Linked DNA regions of Homo sapiens: region 1 is linked to region 2. The links are contacts of gene promoters, found by promoter capture Hi-C in human tissues and cell types (Jung and others, 2019). All regions are on one chromosome and are shown on one strand. Each heading gives the region's core, a stretch centred on a gene start or on the middle of the fragment in contact. The rest is flanking DNA. Distances are from core to core; before and after follow the strand shown.

Region 1 (7,075 bases), core at 606-3,105, 240 kb before region 2:
AGCTGAACGAGTTAAAGCACGAGCAAAGTCACACAGAACGGTCGCCATGTGAGTGCTCATGGCGCGATGCCCAGCTCTGCCGCAGAAGCAGGTCTAGCGGTTCTGGGCCATTGGCTTCTCCTGGGGCTGCCCTCCCCATCGTCACTGGAAGGCTGGAGGACTCTCCATTATGGAGCCCAGGGGAGGTTGAGGACGTCCCTGCACTCCCCGCCCTGTAAGCATCCACCCCCTCATTTACACAAGGAGGGAGGGGGGTTTAGTTCCTTGAGGGGTTGGTGCCAGATTGTTGAAAACCACTGGGTTTCTTACTGCTGCTCAGTGGTTGAATTCGATATAAAATACATGTTCCTGTTCATTGCCATTTATGTGTTAGTTATCATTAACAGCCATTATAATTTTTTCCCAGTGGCAATTACATTGATATTACTATATCTAAATCAAAGAGGACATTACAGCAATTACTGTCATAAGTTGATTGGGAACCACCTAATTTTTAAGTGACACTATTTTCTTATCAGCACGATAATTTTCCTTCGCAATAAATAATATACCAGGAGAGCTGTGCAACCACCAAGTGTATTCAGCTTGGTTTGCAAAGAGAATCTAACGTGCCATCTTGCATATGATTTTTTTTAAATAAATGGAAGTGTACTTACAGTTTCTTCTTCATGTAAGAAGAATAAAACCAAGATCTGAAATCCTAGGATTTGAACATATTTTAACAGATTTTGAACCCAATAGCTGAACTGCACAGGGATGGGAAGAGAAGGAGCTTTTCACACTTTCAATCTGTTCTTCAAGGTGATGAAGAGGAGGGGGCAGGAAAGGAGGAAGGGGGAGTCAGGAAGAGGCCTGGGTCAGTGGCCTCCCTTCCCTTCCCCAGCAGAGTAGCTCTCACATCCAGGGTCCCTGGCTCTGCCCAGGTGGGTGCTGTCTGGATGGGTTGCAGAAATTCAGGCAAGATTAATATTGCTCTTCTTTCCAGACCACCCCAGGTGCCAGGAAGCTGTACTGGCCACAGCCTTGGGGCACAGTGGGAGTTCTGCCTGCCTGTCTCCTGCACCTGCCTGCTGGTGCCTCAAACTCCTCTCAGCTGGACCAGAGCCTTCCAGTTCCTAAGGGGCGCTCACTGGGACTCCACATGGGTGATTTCACAGTGAAGTCAGTGGTCCCTGAGGGCTGGTTTCCAGGGGGCAAGCTTCTCTCTCCCGGGGGTTTGGAGAACGACACTGCCCCTCGGTGGGCACTGGGTGGGTGGGGCTGGCCAGCAGGGAGCCCGGGCTTACCCTGAAGGGCAGCGGGTGGTCGCTGTCTCTCTCCAACCCACGGTTCCACTCTACCTCGAGCCCTCCAGAGTCTGTGGCCCACTACCCCAATGCCCTCCTTCCCACCTCACCCCCTTCAGCTAGTGGAAGGAGGCAGCTGATCCTGTTCTCCTAGTTCAAAATAGTTTCTTCATCTCCATATGTGCAAATTTCAGCTCAAATGCCCCCTGCACCCCTGCATAGAGCTGGCTGCAAACAATTCATCCTTCCTCTGAACGCCCGCTGGGACACTTCCCAACTTCTGAGTCAGGCAGATCTGGCTTAAGGACTTGGACATTTTCCAGCTGTGTGACATTGAGGAATTTACCTGGCTTCTCTGAACCACAGTTTGATCAATAAGTGAAGAGGAAGATAACTTCTTTGGTCATCGACACTCTGAATGCTTACTGAGTACCTGCTATGTGTATGGTTTTGAAAAGCTTTGGGCCCCACTGGTAAAGCTGCCAGGTCCCTCCCCAGTTGTCCTATTTACTGGCCCTGGAACCTCAGGCATGTCTCTTCAGTGCTTTGTGCCTCAGTTTCCCCATCTGTAAAATGGGGGTGATAATAATGGATCCTACCACGGGGGCTAGTTATGAGGATTAAAGAAGTTACTACCTAAAGCTGTTGGATCAGTGCCTGGTGCACTACAGAAATGTTAGATTTATTGATTTAAAAAAATGGCACCTCTTCCAGATTCTATGTTGATTACAAGTTGGAATGACAGTATTTTGGATATATTGGGTTACATAAAATACATTCCACATTTTTAATGTGGCTATGAGAAAATTTTAAATTCCGTATGTGGCTCTCATGTGTGGCTCAAGTTACTGTCTCTATTGGACAGTGTCAGTCTAGAAGACACTGGCTGAGGATTAGATGAAGTAACATGCACCAAGCGCTTAGCATAAGGCCTAGATCACAGTAGGTGCTGAATAAATGTTGTGTCTCTCCTCTGCCCTGCCTTTCCTTCTCCCGAAGCCTCTCGTTATTTGTGCACCTGCGTTGCTCCCTCCCTGTTGAAGTGTGAGGTCTGTGCAGGTAGGATTCTACCTGGGCCCTCCTGCCCCTCCTGCAGACTCAGAACCTACAGGCAGGAGATTTGGACACTTGCAATGGATGGCTGAGGCCACTTTCTTGGAGAGGGTATTCTCCCAAGCTCCTGGCAGTATTGTTACGTGGCAAAACACTTCCCTATTGTTCATACTGGAACCTAGGACTAGGGGCTCCAGCTCAGCCAGGCCTCAGCCCTCCCTTCCCCGCTGCCCAGAGGGGCCCATGTCCCACCTCCGTGCACTCTCCCAGCTTCCAGGGTTCCAGGGGGCTGAAGACACGGGGGAGGGGAAGGAAGAGAACAAACAATGTTATAGGTTAACTTCATATTTTCTCTTCCTTCATTGCATTCGGGCTGCATGAAGGGCCAGGAAATGTGAACTAAACATGTGTGTGATAATGAGATTGTTGGTGGAAAGTCAGCTTGAAAGGACTGGGAGCAATTAAGCTTGCTGACTTACACAAGCTAGAATGACAAGATGCCAGAGCCGGCCCCGCTCACCCATATAATAGGGCCCTGTCCCCCTCAGCCTGTGTGTGGAGTGGGCCTGTCAGCCCCAAAGTGAGCATCCCCATTGCCAGGGAGCTGGGCCTGCCTCCTCCTCCTGACTCCTGCTCCACCAGGCCCTGGTTGCATGGACTGCCACTAGCAGACACCTGTGTCCAAAGACTCTCCGATTCCATGAAAAGTTGTCCCCTAAAGGAAGTACATCTGTCCTGAGTCCTCTCTCCTGCAGTTGTAACCGAATACTTTAGGACATCAGCAGGCTGCCCACAAACCTCAGTCAGTGCCCTCATAGTGCTCCCAATAATGCTCCTGTTCTTGCAGACCTGGCAGTGCATGGGCAGAGGAGTGACACTCTTAACAACATGGCCTTTGAAGGCTTGGGCAAGATGAGCAAGCAGTGTTCCTGAGGCCTGGGGCCTCTGAAGTCACACACGTGCTGAAATCCAGGAAGCTTGACAGGATCCTGCCTAAAATTGCAGAAGGCATGACTCCTACACCTGCTGTTTGTTTTTGGAGAAAATGAGGATCTTGAGCTCAGTTTCAAGGCTTCCCTGGCTCACAGCCCTGCTCAGGTGCAGCCCTCCACACTCACATTCCTTCCCACCTCCAGGAAAATGCAGAGCTCAAGGCTCTTCCTAGATCTCTGTCAATATCCCTCTTGCAAAGAGATCCCAGCATGAGTGGGATCCCAGCACGCAGCAAAGGGAGGCCATTTCCACGCACCGCCTTGATTCCTGATAAGGTTTTGCTGTGTCCCCACCCAAATCTCATCTTGAATTGTAATAATCCCCATGTGTCAAAGGTGGGACCAGGTGGGGATAATTCAATCATGGGGGCAGTTTCCCCCATACTGTTCTCCCGATAGTGAGTGAGTTCTCAGGAGAACTGATGGTTTGATAAGGGGCTTCCCCCTTCACTTTGCTCTCATTCTTCTCCTTCCTGCTGCCATGTGAAGAAGGACGTATTTGCTTCTCCTTGTGCCATGACTAAGCTTCCTGAGGCCTTTCTAGCCACGCTGAACTGTGAGTCAATTAAACCTCTTTCCTTTGTAAATTACCCAGTCTCAGGTATGTCTTTATTAGCAGTGTGAGAACGGACTAATACAATGCCCCTTAGCTGGTCATGGGGTCCAACTCTCATTCACAGTCTGCTTACTGAAGTTCTTCTCTCTACCCCAACATTTGGTGATCTTGGCAGCCAGATAAGGGTGAGGCCGAGGGAAAGTCGTTCATTCCTGCCCCTTGGCATTGGCTCTGGGTAGCCGGATTCCCAGGACTGTATGCAGTCACCAGCATTTTTCATGCTTTTCGTGTGGGTGGCCTTTCCCGGTAAGGAGAAAGATATACACACAAGGAGCCATGACTGCCATGAGAGACCTCTCTCATCATGACCAGTGACTCTGATGCCACACTTGGTTCCAGCCATTGGCTTCTGGTTAGGGACTGATGTCCCTCATCCCTGACGGTCCCATGGAGTGATGCCTGGGGGATGGCCCATCCTGGTTGAGTTTAGGGCTGTGTCATAGCTGGTCACACGTTCTTAGGGATCACGTCCTCTATAGTGGAAAAGTGAATGAAGTGTTTGAATGGAACACAACCTGCTTGCTGATGTGTGGCAAGCCTCTCTGTGGGTCCCTTTCCTAGTCATGAGCTTTTAAATGACAGAATTTTCCACCGAATATTATCACAGATTTTCTGCCATTAACAGAATAGGTGGATGACCTTGGAATAAAAAGCTCTAGAAAAAGAATGCTGCATATTACTTTTTTAAAAAATTGGAAGTGCTTTATATTATGCTGGGAGAGTACAGCAGGGAGAGGCCCACCCAAGGCTTGGGTGAGAGTGGCAGAGTGGTGTGTCCTAGGGCAGCTGCCATTCCTCCTCGGGCCTCAGTTTCCCCCCTACAAAACAAGGCAGGTAGATGATACCATCTTTAAGGTCCCTCTTGGATCGGAAGGTCTGTGGTTCTCTTGTCACAGCTATAACTCAGCAGCATCTTTTACCCCTTGGGGATGCGTGCAAAAGCAGACACTATGGGGAAAACATTATCACAAACCAAGGAACCGTGGATTCGGCAGGGTGGAAAACTCCTCATCCTCAAAGAAATAGTGTGAGGAACAAAGTTCTCTTTCACTCCCAAAATGACTAAAAACAAGCCATTAGTCATTTTATCAAAGAGGGGTTAGTCCTGATTCCACTGGCCAGCCTTCATTTTGGGAAAGTGATTAACTATAAATTTATCTTTAAACTTTCAACCATTCAGCACCATAAGACTGGAGAAAATAAAAATAAAAAAAATAAACTTTCAACCAGGCCAGGTGCGGTGGCTCATGCCTGTAATCCCGGCAATTTGGGAAGCCGAGGTGGCAGGACTGCTTGAGCCCAGGAGTTTGAGACCAGCCTGGGCAGCATACGGAGGCCCTGTTTCCACCAAGAAAAAAAGAAATTAGCTGGGCATTGTTGTGTGTGCCTGTGGTCCAAGCTATTTAGGAGGCTGAGGCAGGAGGATCCCTTGAATCCTGGAGGTCGAGGCTGCAGTGAGCTGGGATTATGCCACTGCATTCCAGCCTGGAGGACAGAGCAAGACCCTGTTGCTAAAAAACAAACACAAAAATTTTCAACCAATCTCCATGTTCTTTAATAGATAGACACTCTGCAAGTTAAAATGACTACTGGTGTGTAGTACAAGAAGGGTGCTTATGGCCAGCATAAAGACATTTATTTGGTGTCACCTGGCTCAGTTTTAGGCAGGGTAAGGGGTCTCTGCTGGCAGCAGCCAATAGCCATGGCTCACATCCCAGGGGTAAGCTTGCTCCAAGTGATTCACCGTGGGGGGCTGAAGGCAGGCACCCCACCCCATGGGTAAGCTTGCTCCAAGCGATTCACCATGAGGGGCTGAAGGCAGGCACCCCACCTTGTGCTGGGAAGACAGCTGCTCACCCGGCTGCTGACCTGCCCTGCACCACTTCACCCGCGCAGCCCTGGGACTTGGCTGGACCTGCAGAAGAGATGGCAAAAGCCAGGGCCTGCTTTGGTGGCTGGTGTTCAGGGACCTCCCTGGCACCTGAACTCCCACTCCAAGAGTGGCTGGAAGGTAAGGCTCGTTAGATAAGCCTCTCTGAGCCCCAGTTCCCTTGTGTCTTCATTTGTGAAATAATAATATCATCTCCTTTGCTGGAGAAAAGAGTGCAGAGTCTAAGCTTGACCAGCGCCCCAGGGGTGCCCCATGAAACCCTCACCATGCCTGCCCCTTCTGCAGTGGCCCCTCCACCTTGGCACTTATGTAGCAGGGAGTGGGTGAGCAAGGGGCCTGAGATAAGGAGAAGCTTGGTCCTGGGCCGGCCTGGATTCAATGCCCAGCATGCCCCGTGTGGCCCTTGGTGCAGGGGATGCAGCAGTGATGCCCTTGGCCCCCCCTCGGTGGTCTTGTGGGACTCCACCTCAAATGTGCATGGGAACCTCATGGGGACATCACCTCAGCCCCAGAGGGGACGGGTGTGCCAGGCTGGCCCTGTCTTGTCATGGTGGTTCTGGAATTCTCCGATTCCACAGAGCAGTGGGCAGTTTCCCTTCCCAGCATTCGTTCTGTCTCTTCCCATTCTGTCTGGTATCTTAACAGCAACAGAGGTTTCTTGTGGTTCAGGTGGGATTGGCCACTCCCCGGAGAGACATCTGTTCCTCTTGCCATGGGTATACTTTGCTTAGCTCAGCCTTGTGTTGGAGGGGTGGTGTGGCAGGGTTTGGATGGAGTAGATGCAGATCCTGTCCCTCAGGCAGCTGTCCGATGAAGCAGTCTGAGATGGCCCGGAGGACGGCATGGCTGAGGGAACGCCTGGGAAATGGAGCTGGGTCCACGATCGCCTGTGCCGGGAAGCTGTCTACCTCTGGACCTTCCCATGCCATGAGCTCTCTTATTGCTTAAGCCAGTTTCAGCCAGATTTTCTGATGATTGAACACCAACACATCCTGTTAGATTTAAAAATAATCCACTAGGGGCCTGTCACAGGTTAATTTTATTCCACTTAAAAAACATTTAGCTTCTTCCACTTTTGGGTGATAAGGATCACAGGGATAATGAATTACAAAACTTTGCTATTCACCAAGTGGTATCTCCTCTCATTTTTCCTATTCCCAAGTCCAAAAAACCATAAGGGCTGTAACTACTGTCCTGGCACCAGGACGTGGGGAGCCTGTGCACACCTCCCAGACAG
Region 2 (7,588 bases), core at 4,222-6,721:
AGGGATATGGGGAAGCAGGGATATAGGAATTTGACTCAATGGGCACCTCAAAGATTGTGTCATCTGAGTCACTGAACGTCTTTCGCAGGGCTTTGCATCAACTGAACATTTAACCCCCAGTTTTTTTTTTTAATCAAAAGAAACTGAGCTGGCACACTTTAAAAAACAGACTGACTGTTCTTCAAAATATTAAATAGGGTTATCATACAACATAGCAGTTCTGGTCATAGAGATATACCCAAGAGAAGTAAAAACATATGTCCACACAAAAACTTGTATGCAAGTGTTCAGAGCAGCATGACTCATAATAGTCAAAATGTGGAAATGATCCAAATGTTCATCAAGTGATGAATGGATATACTAAATTTGATAAATCCGTAGAGTGGAATATTAGTCAGCCACAAAAAGGAGTGAAGGTAGACACATGCTGCAACAAAGATGAACTGGAAAACATTATACTTAGTGAGAGCCAGTCACAAAAGACCACATGTTGGATGATTCAATTTATCTGAAATGTCCAGAATAGGTAAAGCCATAGAAACAGGATGTGGTTGTCAGGGTCTCTAAGAATGGGGAGGAAGGAGTGACTGCTGATGGTCATGAGATTTCTTTATGGGGTTATAAAAATATTCTAAAATTAGTTATGGTAAAAGTTTCACAATTCTGTGAGTATATTAAAAACCACTGAATTGGACACTTAAGGCTACATTTTATAGTAAGTAAATTATATCTCTACATGTTATTTAGAAACACTTTGTCCTTAATTTATCATAATAGGACTTGAGAATTCAGTAAAAGACTTGAGTTCTCACTAATTGAGCTCAATAAGTTTCACTGTGAGATCAGATCAGTTATGAAAATTAAAATTCTGTATTAAAAATAATTCTACACTTTTCTTGCAAATCCCCTGCCCCAAATTCATCAATCTTTTTTCCTACAGGACTTCCCAGAGGTTTTACACATATGTCATTATGTCTGGTGAGGGTTCAAGGTTGAAGTGTTTCCCAAAACAGCTGCTCCTTGCACCTCTGCAATCTCAGAGCATTTTGTGTGGCTCTCTTAGTGTCCTAGAGAAATCAGTTAGAGAGGTTGTCCTTTTAACTTTAAGAGTAAAAAGAGGCTTTACTGATTTATATGGAAGGAGAAAAACCTTGGAAACAGAGTTAGGAGATAAATGTGTTTCTATAGAACAGAAACATTTAATTTAAAGGGACCTGAAGAGGAAGGCAGCCCCAGTGACCCTTCCTGGGGTGAGAGCTGTGCCAGGTGTGATCACACCACACCCCTCATCTTTCCAGCCAGGCCGTGAGGCCAGCGGGATGTCCCATGTAGCACAAAGAGATTTGGAGAAGTCACTTTGCTTATGGGAAAACAGCGAGAAGGTGATGGGATGGGGCTCTGGCCTCAGGGATGTCTCATGGTTCCCGTGCCCTTTTCTTTAAACTTCACAATCAGAAAATATGGAGCCAATAGCACTGACTCAAGCCCATTTCAGGAAAGAGCAGTGAATTAATAAATTACTTGTGCTGTGTCCACCTCTGTTTTGATTGGCTGGAGTATTTCTACTGTGATAAGTGAAATTTACCCATCACCTGTAAATTTCAAGTGTACAAGAGACATAAAAGTCCAAATTTTTTTTTTACTAATGGCCTTAATGAGCAAAGACACGGTCATTTTAGTGACACGTTTTTGGAATGGAGGCAGAACACAGTCAGTTTGTTAGTTGTTGTCTATAACTGTTTTATCCTTTAGTTTTCAAATCTACCACTCAGATTGAACTGTTCGTTGCAATGCATTGCTTCAAGAATGTTTGACCATTTTGTCTCTTCTTCATTCAACAATACAAAGAAGAAGACCACCCATAGTTGTAATCTGACACTTCTAGCTATTCAGTTATGACTTCTCTGAATGTACAGATATCATTTCTGCTCAACCAAGATAAGCCATGTTACAGTATTGATCCACTGACACTTAAAAATAAGTAGCAAATACAATCAACAAGATTCTTATTTAGTGACTACATTTTATTACGGGTGTCCACGTCAGGACGAAAAATGGAATATTTACTTTTCCTTCCTTGACCTGAAACTTTATGAATCATTTTATGATTGCACATACAAGTAGAAGCAATATTATATAGAAATCTGATGAATAATATATAGTTTATGTAATTAACTCAGAGGAGGGAGGATTTCTTTCCATTATTAAGGGGGTATGTTTAGGATACAGCACTTGGGAGTTTCACACTAATAATGTCCTTGCATGGGGTGGAGGATCACTCTTCCTTCAATTGATAGGACTGTTGAAATCCCTGAAAACTTTGGAAGCATCCCAGTGCACTTGCTATCCTGTCTGCCTGATGCCTGTATCACTCCAAGTCCTGTGCATAGTAATGGATTTTTAAAATCATTGTGACAAGGGATGAAGTGCATGTCCCTTGTCCTAGAGCCCATATCACATTGTAGTAGATGTCTCATAGTGACAACACCCCTGCCTCCCCAATCTCAGCAGTTTGTAACAATGAACACTTCTTTCTTATTTAAAATGTCTCACTAATGTGACACTGTGTGTCTTCTCATTCCCAGACTCAGGCTAAGGAGCAGAGATCTGGGAGAACAGGCCCTTTTCATGGAAGATGAGAAGTACAAGGGGAAGAACCAAAGCACACAATTGCTTTTAAAGCTTCTGCTCAGATGTGCTGCACATCACACTCCTCACGCTGTTGTGGGCAAAGCAAGCCACAGGCCAAGCCTGGTAGTGGATCAGCTCCCTCAAGTCTCATGGCGATGGGCGAGTGTATCTGCTGTTACTGAGAAAAGAGAGGGGTAAATAGTTGTGACAGATGATACAAATGTGCACACCTCAGCTGACACAACTCCAGTGGAACAGGCTGTCTGTTGTACTGGAACCAATGTGAGCTTTTGGATTTTCGTCGTCTGTGCATGAGAGAGATTCCACTGGACACCAAGCTTATCCACAGCCTCCATCCAGAGATATCTGGATTTAATGAACACCCAGTCACTGCCTGCAAACAGGAGATACTGAGTTTCCAGTACATAAGAACTCCTAGATGCATGAATACCTAAGAAGAAATTAAATGTGAAGATCTGATCAGAAACATAGTGGAACCAGTGAACACTGGCCAAAAGAAAAAAAAAGTCCCATTCCACTGCCTGGACAATAGCAGGAAGGAATTCCTTATAGTTTCATGCCCTGTATTGGCTTTAGAGTCATTAATGAACAGTATCTATGTCGTATGATCCATGAAGTAGTGAGAATTGTTCACACCTGAAACCATTTTCCTACTGGCTACAGAAACGTTACCATCATATGATTTATTATTAAGTGTTGTTTTCCTTGTCAACATTTTGTGGTTTAACAGCCCACCTAAGTGTGAATCAGTTATCAACTGGCTTTCTTATTGAAAAGACAGACGAGGCTGCATGAAAATGCTTAGCACATGGGTAGGAAGCAGTGGATGAAAATAGCAGAAGTGGGACCCAGAAGATGAACTCTTTTACATTTGATTATTCAGATTATATGTAAGTTCCCATCCTGCTGAAATCTCTTCAGCAGCAAGTTAACCTCCAACCTAAGAAAGATGGAAGAAATCAAGAGTTGAAGATGGAGGGGACAGGGACAGTCTCTGTATCTGTGTGCTCCCTGAGGTGGGGGCCCCTGCCTCTCCCATCTTTGCACTCCTCATGCCTACTGTGTACCTGGTGCAGACCAGCTGCCCTGAAATGTTTGAGGTGCTGTGTTACCATTGCCTCTTTTGATTGCCCACCGAGTGCCTCCTGAGTCATGCACCCCATCACAGCCCTCACGCAAGGCCTGGAGACAAACCCAGCACACACCGGCCTAGTATTAATTCATAACCATCATCATGTACCTAAGATTCTACCTACCTGGATGTTGATTGATGAAATTTATAAAGTATTAGAAGGACTTCAAATCGACTTACAACTATCACATATGAAATGCACAAAACCAGCTTTTAAAGCCTTCTATAATTTGTTTAAGACTGAAGAACTTTAAGACCATTACTTTTATTTATTTATTTGTTTGTTTGTTTGTTTGTTTGTTTGTTTTTTGAGGGACAGAGTCTCGCTCTGTCACCCAGCCTGGAGTGCAGTGGCACAATCTCGGCTCACTGCAAGCTCTGCCTCCCGGGTTCACACCATTCTCCTGCCTCAGCCTCCCAAGTAGCTGGGACTACAAGTGCCCGCCACCACGACTGGCTAATTTTTTGTATTTCTAGTAGAGATGGGGTTTCACTGTGTTAGCCAGGATAGTATCAATCTCCTGACCTTGTGATCTCCTCGCCTCGGCCTCCCAAAGTGCTGAGATTACAGGCATGAGCCACTGCACCCGGCCCTAGACCATTACTTTTAAAATGTAAAAAAAAAAAAAAAAAAAAAAAAAAAAAAAAAAAAAAAATGGAAAAAGGAAAAGGAAATAAAGAAGCAGCAGTGGGGATCAAGACAGAGGAAGGAGATGCTACCTGCCTGCTCCCATCCATCTCCTCTTCACAGTCAGAAACACTAAGAGGAACCCTGTGCTACAGGAGAAGACATTCCAGAAATTTTGTCTTAGGACTTTAACCTTTCCGATATATGACTGGGTCATAAACTTCCTTTTCAGAAGCTATTGATCACCCCATCACCTCTGCAAATGGGGTGTCTATAAATGCCATCTGTTGCCTGCACATTGGCTACTGGTTCATGAATGGTTAAATTTGTTGCAACTTTTGCTTCTGTCCTGTAATGAAGGAAAAGAAACTTTCTTCTAGGAGTGCAGTATCAAATTTGTCTGGGTAGGTTGAGTTTGTAGGTGTTGCAGGTGCACCTAGGCTTAAAGCATTTGGAGGTATCCTTGCATCTGTGTTAAGAGGCTCTCTCTGTAGGGGAGAGATCATTGACTCATTGGCCTGTATACTGATGTAATGTCAAGGGGAGGGCCCAGTACCTTTTCTGAAAGGGGCAGCTCTTCCTCAGATTGGGAATTGGAATTGGGAGGTTGTCTTGGCCAGAACTGAGAAAGAAAGAGCTCTGGATTGACGTCTCATCTTAAACTTCGTAGAATCTGGATTTGAGAGACAGAGCACTCACAGGAGATTGGGGCAAAAGAGTGCTTTGTAGGACCATACCTGTGCAGTGATACGTCTCTCTCATAACCCAAAGTTAAAGACCCATAAACTCACTGTGGTAAGTGCTTTCTTCTGCAGCAAATTCCCCTTGAATATCCGTCCCATTCCTGCAGAGTCTTGTTTAAATGTTCCCAGCTGTGCTATAGGGAATCGGGGAGGAGCTGTGGACACATACTGGTCCATGTGGGGGCTGCGGCGGTGACCAGTGAGAGGTCTCCTTGATGACAGCGACTCTGAGGACACAGAGCTGGTGCTATAAGACCTGGTAACTAAGTTCCCAAGGAGCTTTTCTCTTCTTTGCCAACCTTGAAGATCTGGGTATTATTTTATGAAGCTGGATGGAATCTTCCCACATGTAGAGTTCTCAGGTCCAGGTATTATTTTATGAAGTCGGATGGAATCTTCCCGCACATGGAGTTCTGAGGTTTCTCAGGTTGCTCTCTGGCTCAGTGATGCTGTGTGAGAATGTTCAACCATATCTCCACAGCACAAGCTTTGGATCTGATGTCAAGAAGCTTTTGTGAATATTAAAAATGAACCGCATCTCCCTGAATCAAAATAAATACTACTATATGCACTTCAATGGAAATAAAATCTGGGATTCTTTTTGGGCCCTAAGCAAAATGTAGAAATTCATTTTCCCATCAGACTTTTCAGTAACTTTCTTTTAACCTAATGAGACACTCCACAGGAGACTAACATTTCTTTCGCTGAATTCCAAGTGTAGGTTTCCTGGGTTGTCCATTTAATTGTTAAAGTGAGAGAGATTCTGCTGGAAGACAAGCACCATGGAACAGCAGGAGGAAAGCTGAATGGAGGTTACTTGGGAGCTACCCCAGGAAGAAGCGCTGTGCAGACCATCATCGCAGGGTGGAGAGTAGCCATGAGACGTGTGTGGTGGCCTCTGGATGCTGCTGTGCTGCCTCATGGGAATTTTCACAGATCTTCCACTGTTTGTAAATGGTGCCCAATGAGCGGAAAATTAAGTGGTACTTAACACACACACGTTCACCAAATACTTGCAGCGTTATCCCCATAGTGTGGATGGCTTTTGACAAGGTGCCTGATGAAGAGAGATGCACATAGTTGTGAGTCCCAGCCTACAGAAGCTCATGATGGGTGCTCCACAGTGTTGGTGTTGAGTAAAAATGCCCAGGACAGTATGCACTGTGCTTGACGCACAGTATGACTAAGAAAATACCTGTTATTATGTGAACAGTGACCATATGCACAGCATACAAATCAGTAGCCCAGTGCTGTTCTGATGGTCTTGTCCTGAGTGGTTTTTCCCATCTAGTTGGAGACAAGACTCATTCTCTAGAAAGAAGAGCAAAAAATGGTGGGTCCCACCAAGGCCATGGACAAGGGAAAGGCAGAAACGTGCAGAGGGAGCAGAGACAGAGGAGGCTTGAGACCTGTGTGGAGGGACAGGAAGGGAGCTCGGAAGCCCGTTTTGTAGCAGATCCCAAATTGTGAAAGTTGATAGTTGTGGAGCACACATATGCAGAGTAACATCTAGAATTCTCAGAGTTGGTGATTTAAAGAAAAGAGAAAAAAAAAACACTGACTAAAAATTAATCTTCAATTTCCCACAGGCCTTAAACTTCCAGCTGCTAAAAGACAGTGGGGTGTAGGGGGTGGAAAGAGACCTCATCTAGGAGGGACAGCTTGGTCTATGACAGTTGAGACAGGTGCCAAGGAGGGACGAAGTTGCTCTCTGCCAACTAGACTTAGGGGAAAAAACAACCATAATCATGTTTATTTTCATGATAAGCATATGCAAATCAGGCCACTACAATCTGTAAACATGGTAATTCCTCTTTATGGATAAGTTCAACTTAAAAGTTGTGAACAAGAGCAAAAGGATATAGTTTTCTAGTTTTCTAATGAGCTCAGAGTTTATGCCCAGTTATAGTTGAGCTCTGGAATGGTTTTTCTAGCTCTTCCTGTCCTTCTGTAGTTCTGGTAGAGAACCTATGAGGACCAGAAACAGAGCAAAGGCGGTTTAAATCCTGGCTGAACCGATTGCCCTCCACATGACCTAGGACAATTGACCCAACCTTTGTAGGCCTCAGTTTCCTTTCCTACAAAATAGGCAGGATAACCAGGAGGTCAAAGTGAAGTGACAAGATGTGAACCTGCTCTGTAAGATAATAAGCACTATTTGCTGGGAAGGGATTGCGGCTTCTTAGCTGTCCTTTAAGTGTGGTTGTCTGTGGATTAAGGAAGGAAAACTGGGTGTTAATTCTAAACAGCCCTCTGAATCAACTGGGGCTGAAGACCTGGGTGAGGGTAATCTATAGTCTGTGGATGTTAGGTGGTTAACTTCAAATAATTAGGAACAACACTGAAATATTTGACCATATCTAGTGCATCTGCTGAAAATTCTTTTTGAAAACTTAAACCCTGTAGTAGATTAAACCAGCCTTGGGCTACAGC

The links. The method cuts DNA at HindIII sites, captures the fragments that hold promoters and counts their contacts. A contact is called where the count stands out against the background at its distance.
Region 1: a contact is called between a fragment that was not itself captured here and the fragment with the promoter of SMIM21 in region 2, in 4 of the 25 tissues and cell types used here (heart left ventricle, lymphoblastoid cells, mesenchymal stem cells and 1 more).

Annotation. Positions count from the first base shown.
Region 1 is chr18:75,184,087-75,191,161 of GRCh38, forward strand. No RefSeq gene overlaps it. Among named protein-coding and RNA genes, the nearest start is that of PTGR3, 22 kb to the right of the region's middle. The HindIII fragment of the contact is 3,462 bases long and covers 125-3,586 here.
Region 2 is chr18:75,422,232-75,429,819 of GRCh38, forward strand. It overlaps SMIM21 (small integral membrane protein 21), which reads right to left and starts at 5,472. Exons shown (of 3, transcript NM_001037331.3): 1 at 5,204-5,472. The coding sequence starts at 5,332. LOC105372200 (a long non-coding RNA gene) reads left to right here. Exons shown (of 4, transcript XR_935636.3): 4 at 2,586-4,430. RefSeq lists an enhancer at 7,565-7,588. The HindIII fragment of the contact is 8,486 bases long and covers 274-7,588 here.